3 separate regions of the Homo sapiens genome follow, and regions 1 and 2 are each linked to region 3. Evidence: promoter capture Hi-C in human tissues and cell types (Jung and others, 2019). All regions are on one chromosome and are shown on one strand. Each heading gives the region's core, a stretch centred on a gene start or on the middle of the fragment in contact. The rest is flanking DNA. Distances are from core to core; before and after follow the strand shown.

Region 1 (2,700 bases), core at 6-2,505, 98 kb before region 3:
TCCACACCCACTCACATCCACACACATGCACACATGCACACAATTCATATCTGCACACACACAAATGCATGTGCACGTGTGTATGCACACACAATCACTGCCACATACACGTACCAACCCTGTGCATACCTAGGCACACAGGACCACCCCCAAGCTCACTCCTTCTCACTGGGAACCTTCTTACTACTATTGAGACTCTGAGAGTTAATACTGAGTGTCAACTTGATTGGATTGAAGGATGGAAAGTATTGATCGTGGATCGTGGGTGTGTTTGTGAGGGTGTTGCCAAAGGAGATTAACATCTGAGTCAGTGGGCTGGGAAGGCAGATCCACCCTTAATCTGGACGGCCACAATCTAATCAGCTGCCAGTGAATATAAAGCAGGCAGAAAAACATGAAAAGGTTAGATGGGCCTAGCCTCTCAGCCTACATCTTTCTCCCATGCTGGATGCCTCCTGCCCTCAAACATCGGACTCCAAGTTTTTCAGTTTTGGAACTCGGACTGGCTCCCCTTGCTCCTCAGCCTAGACAGCCTATTCCGCGACCTTGTGATCATGTGAGTTAATACTTAAGAAACTCCCCTATATATATGTGTGTATACATATATACATACGTATATATACGTATGTATATACGTATATATATGTGTGTGTGTGTATATATATTCCATTAATTCTGTCCCTCTAGAGAACCCTGACTAATACAAACTCAAAGAATGTTTTTTCCTGTCAGCCTTCCTTGGCCCCCCTGACATAAACAATTGTAGCTAAACTTCTCCATCCTTGCTGCATGCCTGGGATGTTTACAACTTTGCTCCCTGTTTCCTCTTTTATCCTGATGATTTTATTAACAGTTATGAATAGCATTTCACATGAATGGCAGCTTCCGGCGAAGGGTCTGCAACTCTGAGGCTATGAGTCCTGTAAATGAGTGAATTTCTTACTTTATCACTGACATAATTTTATACTGTGCTTTTCAAATGCATTTAGGTCAAGGAAAGCTTTTATTGGTACCTAAAGCTGAGATTCAGCAAACTCTGATATTCCATTGTCTGTTGATAGTGAACAAAAAGCAAGAAAAGAAGAATGTAAATGTCTGCTCTGGGTTTCTTCTCTGACAGGCACTGTTGCTGAGGAACGCTCTAGTGATCCATCACTTAACAGGACTCCACTAGTCTCAGGCCAAGGTTAACACGTTGCTTCTCTTCCCTTTTTAAACATCTCCTGCATCTGCTATTTGCTTTCCATTACCTGGCCTCCCAGGTTTTGCCCAAGGACACTGAAGTTTCTCTTGGTGGTGGAACGACAAGACACGGGCCAATGGGTATTCTGGCAACATCCCCTATAGTGGCAAAAGATGATGTGGCTGCTGCCCAGAGCCCTGGCACGGAGCCTGTGGCCACCTCTGACAAACACCCACAAACATGCAGCAGAGCTAAATAGCCGCTTCGTGAGCGTCCCTGGCAGGGATGAGCAATACTCTTTCTCTGCCTCCTCAGAAAACAGTTTTTTTTTGTTTTGTGTTTTGATTTTAGACGGAGTTTCGCTCTTGTTGCCCAGGTTGGAGTGCAATGGTGTGATCTCAGCTCACCGCAACCTCTGCCTCCTGGGTTCAAGCGATTCTCCTGCCTCAGCCTCTTGTGTAGCTGGGATTACAGGCATGTGCCACCATGCCCGGCTAATTTGTATTTTTAGTAGAGACAGGGTTTCTCTATGTTGGTCAGGCTGATCTCGAACTCCCGACCTCAGGTGATCCGCCCACCTCTGCCTCCCAAAGTGTTGGGATTACAGGCATGAGCAGAAAACAGTTTGCTGGAACATCAAGCCAAAGGAAAGGTGTAATTTATTGTGGGGATTGCGTATTAGATAATTAGTTTTCAGGAGTTCCTTCGGTAATTACAATCTGTAACATTTGTAATTGATTTGGTCAGATTAAAAATGGATGTGTTGGTACATCTGTGAAACTAGCAAGAGGGTAAGGAGGAGTGGGAGGGGGAGATGTCTCACCGAAGGAGACCAAGAGCAACATGGACTCAGGCCAAGCCCCAGATGACACCCTTTCTGAAGCCAAAATTACAGCAGGCCTCTAAGATGCACACCCAGCAGATAAGTTCTTTCCCAAAAAAGACCATGTCGGGAGGCCCAACATCTCCTGAGCGGCTCTTTATAACCATCAGAAGAGCTGCTGCCACAGGGGCTTGTGAAGTCAGACACTTACCTTAGCCCTGCGTCGACCCGGGTCTGTCAACTAGATTGGCATAAATGAAAATCAGTCACTTTGCAAAACAGGAGGAAGGAATCCTTCTCTTGGAAGAGATGAGGGCCAAAGAGAGGATGAATGGGGCAAGAGTGTAGAAAGGAAGCTGCCACCTGCCAGACATCCTCTTGGGTGGATCACCTCTGACCCGAGCCCTATGAAAAGACTTCTGCCTTCTGGGACCTTCACCAAAAGGCTTTCGCCCCCTCTCGGTCTGACTCATGCTCCTGCCAGGGCTCCTCTGTTCTCCTGTCACAGCCAGGTGTGCTGTGAACTGGAACAGCAGCTCTCTCTTCAGGCGGGGACCAGCTGCTGAAGGTTCTTGGACTCAGAGAATCCCATCCCAGTGGCTGTTCCTCCAACACTGAGAGCTCCGAACAGAGAGGAGGAGCTGCTCCTGAAACACAGCTGCTGTGGAGGTTATGGGAGGAAGACCAGGTATTC
Region 2 (2,700 bases), core at 48-2,547, 120 kb after region 3:
GGAGACTGGGAAGAGCAGAGTGAGAGGAGGAAGCACAGTCTTTGGAGTAAGGCATGGAAGAGTGTTATCAGTTGTGGGGAGAGACTTTGCTTGACCAGGGTGGGCAGTTCACATTGAAGGATACCTGGAGATGAGATTATATATAGCTGCTCTGTTTAGTAATGTAGTCATTAGCCACATGTGACTGTTTAATTAAAGTGAAATAAAATTAAAAATTCACTTCATCAAATAGTGCTCAGTTGCTACACATAGCTAGTGGCTACCATACTGATTGCAGATAGAAAATATTTCCATCATTGCAGAAAATTCTGTTGGTCAGCACTGATAAAGGAAGTATGGGGTTTTACACAGGATAACAGTGTGAAGAGCAACTGGAGATCTTTTGACCAGGCAAATAGTAGCATGATGAAAGTCATACCCAAAATAAAGAGTAGAAGGAGAGCAGTGAGGGGCTGTCAAGTAGGTAGGCCTATCACTTCACCGTTACAGCACACAGAATGAGATCTGGGGATGATGAAGCTGTTCCGCAGGAAGAACATATGGATTTTGTCTGGTAGAATGACTGAAAACCTCAAGGAGCCACAGAATGGCCACTGAGGGTTTTAGTGTGAGGGACAGAGGGAGAATGGTGTAGCATCAATGAGCAAACAGTTTGGAGGAGGAGCTGCCTTGGAAGCCTGAGGGAGAACAGTCATGTTTTTTACAACAATGTGTGGTAGTAAGGATTAAATGAAGTGAGATATATATATATATATATATATATATATCACATTGAGCGAGATCATAGATAAAACTTTAGATATAGGTGGTTTTAAAAAGAGACGTACCCCCGTTATTTTGACATAGTGCATGTAAAGTTACATTGTGTGGCTTCGTCTTGCATCTTCTGCATAAATACTTGCGCTGAGAGCTCTTTCCCTTGTTAGCTTAGGTAGCAACTACCTTTTACTGAACACCTTCCTTGTAAGGTAACTTACTTTATCTCCTCACCCATGTGAGATCCATTTTATAGATGAACGAACATAGCTAGGAAGAGGTGAAGCGGTAATTCAAACTAAAAACTTTTGCTCTTCCCATTTCATCTCTGCACGTGAGGATGGTTTCACTATCAGCTCCCCAGGTTGATACTATTGAAGCTTGATGCTTACATCACATCTACATTTAGAGGTTGTCTTTGGCACTGAACTCTATTTACCATCTCTTTTTCAAATGTAAGACATACATCCTATAAAACTTGCTTACTCTCAGTGGTAATTGGTATGTGGGGTGACCTGGAATGACTGCCATCTGGACTTCTCTAGGGCGCTGGCTCTTGGTGTGAGGTCCGCAACCAGCAGCCACAGGCATGAGCACCACTAGGAACTTGGTAGAAATGCAGGTGTTTACGCCCCATCTCAGACCTAAATGCCAGAGGGTGGGGCCCAAAAAGTCACTTTAAAATAAGCCCTTCACATGATTCTGATGCACTCCAAAGTTTAAGCATATAAACCAAATGAACAAAGAGGATAGTTTTGAAAAGCCTCCTATGAATTAAATTGGAACTGTATGGGTACATTTACATTTTTCAACACGGCTGACTGTGTAACCCATCAGCAGTGGTTGCCTGTAAAGATGCATGGGAAAGTGTATATATTAAGTAAGATATTATTTCAGAAGGACAGATCTATGGCTTTTCTTTTTTAAAGGCTAGCTTCCTGAGTAAATTATCACTGCGTTATTGACTCAGAATAATATCAAGGTGTGTACTATCAAATACAGGGTTGGGTATCTCTTTGTAAGAGATAGCAGTGATTTTCAGTGGATAATTAAGGGAATTAGCACTTCACATTTTTTTCATGATATTTTTATGTCACTTAGAATTTTTCACGAATTATTCCTTGTATGATTGTAGATAATTAAAGCCCCATATGCTTTGCAGTAGTAGCAGCAGCGCAGATTATGATGCAGATGGAATTGGTAAGAGCAGTAGGTTTTGAAATGAGGTTGTAGACGGGCTGCTGAGACTGATTTTTGGACAGCATAAATGAAAGCAGTATTCTGATGTCAGCATTTGGAGTTTAAAAATCCCTAGCCATGGATCCCGTGCTGAGTCATTGGTACTTCAGGTAAACCAATTCCAACTCTATGTAAGCTAGCCTTCAGCCATGTGAAACTGTTAACGGCATCTCTTCCTCTCTCTGAACTGCACCCCCGAGCCCTGCCAATCCCTAACACATGCATAAAGAAAAACACTTATCTTTCAGGATTCATTTCCTGCCACTTGTCTCTGTGGAGCCCCTCCTGAGCTTTCATCCTCCTGTGGATCCATCACTCCTACTCCTATGCCCCGGCTACTCTGTGCAGACTTTGTAATAAGAGCTTGAGCACTTCAGATGCACATTTGTATGCATGCCTTTTCCGTTTATTATGTTCCTTGAGGGTAGGGGCTTTGTATTTGAATTATTATTTTATTGCTCTCATTTTTACTTCAGCTTCTATCACAGTACTTTGTGCATCATAATGCTAGTGTTTTTTATTGTTTCCAAGTAGAATTAAAGCTGTTCTTTGGGAAAGGGTGTTGCCTCATACATGGATGATTATAAATGTCTGATTTGCCAAAGATGAGAGTTTTCTTTTTGGTTAGGATTTATGACCCCAAAGGGAAGGTTACTGTAGTTCATCAGCCAATAAATGAAACCACACAGGGGGATTTTGTGATCT
Region 3 (2,700 bases), core at 17-2,516:
ATTCACAATACCCTTTCTCAGGTGTTTGGTCACTGCTAGTGAGCCGCCTGGATCAGTGTTTCCCAAATGGCAGTCATTTGCATCTTTGCTTTTCTTTTGGGGGCGGGGGGGTAATATCCTGTACCAGATTTTTGAAAACTGACATTAAAAATACATGTTTAAAATGTGCAAAGTGCACTAAAGTGCACTGGATGTATTTTTTATTCATGTATATACTTTTGTTATCTATCACCCAGGTCAAAATACAGAACCAGCACCCCAGAGGGTTCCCTCCTCCTCCTTCCCAGCCAATAATCTTCTCCTCCTACCTAACCGCTGTTCTTACTTCAATCACTATCAACTAGTTTTACACGTTCTTCAACTGCATATAAATTGTCTCAGTTTTTTACTTAACACTTTTCTTGAAGTGCTTTCGTTTTTTGCCACTTTTTATTTGACCTAAGAAATAACATTAATGAAACAGTGGTTTGACGTGATAGGCATTTCCCTCCTAATGCGCACTAAAAACACTTAACTATTTGAAAAAAGAAGTTTCTTCGTGTACCAACTAATATATTCTCCGCCCTGTCTCCAGAAACCGCCCTTCCTCTGTGGGCCGGTGGTTACCGGCACCATTGGTACACGGACCACATTTTGTTTCCCAAAGCAACCAGATGATTTTTGAGGTCCTTTGCAGCTCGAACACGGAATGACTTTGTGGTGATCGAGTAGCCAGAAGTTCACGGAATGCACTGTCACAATTGTGATTCCGCCATAGCGCCGTGCATCCATCCAACACTTGTTTAATACCTATATTTAATACCTAATACCTTAGACGGTCCTAGGCTGTGGACACAGAAGACTAAACCCCACTTCCTGAGTTGAAGTGGGGGAAATAGAGGAGTAAATCATTTCACGATGTGTGGTTAAGTGCTGCAGCTCAGGTAACCACCAGTACACAGAGGAAGGGCGGTTTCTGGAGACAGGGCGGAGAGGAGACCGTGGGTGGGCATTTCCCAGAGCAGCCTCTGCCAGCCACCCTACTTTGATCACTTTGCCGCCGAGCAGCAGCGGCGGTCAACCTCAGCCTCCCTTAGCAACCTGAGTGCCCCGTCCAGGAGCCTTACTATTGGTCTCATGCAGCGAGATGGGCAGTTCTGCCGTGCAATCCCAGCTCGCAGTTCTTGCTCCGCGTGTACTCACGGGAGGACTCGCAGGCGTTACCGCCTTCCCGCGTGCCCCGCCCACCCTCCCGAGCGTCTTTCGGCGCATGCGCGGACTGGAGCTGTGTGCAGGGCCAGCGCGGAGCCCGAGCAGCCGCGGTGAAGCGCCTGTGCTCTGCCGAGACTGCCGTGCCCATTGCTCGCCTCGGTCGCCGCCGCTTTAGCCGCCTCCGGGGGAGCGGCCGCCTATTGTCTTTCTCCGCGGCGAAGGTGAAGAGTTGTCCCAGCTCGGCCCGCGGGGGAGCCCCGGGAGCCGCACGGTGAGAGCGCAACTTAGTTGGCGGAGTTGGGGGAAGTTTTGTGATTTGTGGGTCGGGGCGCGGAGCGCGGCCAGTCCCCTGCGGTTGCTCGGTGGGGCGGGCCCCGGAGGAGGGGCGGGGGCTGCGGGGGTTTCGGGGGCGGGCTGGACAGACGGGTCGCCGGGCGGCGCCGGGACCTCAGGTCTGCGGACCCCTCCTCCCTGCGCATCGCCCTTCTCCCGCATTGTCTGCTTGGGGCTCGGCGCGCCTCCCACTCCGCAGCCCAACTTAGAGGCCGTCGCCGCTTTCCGGGTGGGGGGCGCGCCCGGCCGCCGATGCTACCTCAGGCGCTCCGCCCCCAGCGAGGCCCCGAATCCTTGCCCCGGGTCCCCGGGTCGGCGCCGCCGGGGCGGGCTCACTCCTCCCCTGGGGCGGGCGGCCGCGGTGTGGAGTCCCCGCCGTGGAGTCCGCGCCGTGAACAAGTGCTGCGGGCGCGAGGGAGCGGCTCCCCGGGGTCGACGCGGACGGTAAACACGTCGGGCCGCGCCTGCCTGTCGGTGCCTCTCCGCGGCTTCTCGGGGGTGCGGCCCAGCTGACCCGCGCGGGTCGCAGGCGAGCGGCCCAGGAGACCCGTGCGGTCCCCACGCGCTCTGGGACCCGTGCAGCCAGCCGGCTCAGCTTGCAGCTATACTTTGATACCAAACAAAACTTTTTTTTTTTTTTTTGGTAAATACGGTTTACTGCTTTTTTTTTTTTTTTTTTTTTGCAAAGCCACGAAGTATGTGAAGTTGAAAAAAGGAAAAACCCTAAAACTTTTTAAAAAAAAATCAAGAAAGGGGGTAGATAGGTTTGTTTTGTTTTGGAAATAGTTCTTATAGCAGAGTGATACCGTCCCATTTAATTTTCTAGATCCCGGAATTCACAATGAAAATTGGATTGAGCGGTATTTTGGTGTTCATTCTTTGCTAATGACACTCCTTAATGAAGTTATTTGGAGAGTTTATTGCTTCAGTACAGTAAAAACCAGTGTGCCTTTTTTTTTGTTAGTAGTCCCCCCCACAACAAGTGTTTTATTTTTAGAAGAAGCATTTTCTTCAGTTTTTCTGAACTGTTGGATTGCGCAGATGAGGACAAACGGTGCAGTTCTTGAAAGGTCATTATTGGCAAGTTTGTGAAGAAGCTAAGATCAGTTGAGATAAATCATTGTTACTATTCTTGTATTCTGTCGTGGACTCTTGGGGATTTGCAGGCTGCATTAA

What was found. The method cuts DNA at HindIII sites, captures the fragments that hold promoters and counts their contacts. A contact is called where the count stands out against the background at its distance.
Region 1: a contact is called between a fragment that was not itself captured here and the fragment with the promoter of AKAP13 in region 3, in 3 of the 25 tissues and cell types used here (IMR-90 fibroblasts, lymphoblastoid cells and mesenchymal stem cells).
Region 2: a contact is called between a fragment that was not itself captured here and the fragment with the promoter of AKAP13 in region 3, in 2 of the 25 tissues and cell types used here (aorta and spleen).

The regions. Positions count from the first base shown.
Region 1 is chr15:85,281,521-85,284,220 of GRCh38, forward strand. No RefSeq gene overlaps it. Among named protein-coding and RNA genes, the nearest start is that of MIR7706, 98 kb to the right of the region's middle. The HindIII fragment of the contact is 6,470 bases long and covers 1-2,700 here.
Region 2 is chr15:85,497,461-85,500,160 of GRCh38, forward strand. The region is part of intron 2 of AKAP13 (A-kinase anchoring protein 13); the gene reads left to right. Among named protein-coding and RNA genes, the nearest start is that of AKAP13, 120 kb to the left of the region's middle. The HindIII fragment of the contact is 3,827 bases long and covers 1-2,700 here.
Region 3 is chr15:85,379,337-85,382,036 of GRCh38, forward strand. It overlaps AKAP13 (A-kinase anchoring protein 13), which reads left to right and starts at 1,267. Exons shown (of 37, transcript NM_007200.5): 1 at 1,267-1,462. It overlaps MIR7706 (microRNA 7706), which reads left to right and starts at 1,260; the gene lies at 1,260-1,326. RefSeq lists silencers at 1,118-1,197, 1,578-2,147, 1,804-1,971. The HindIII fragment of the contact is 20,871 bases long and covers 1-2,700 here.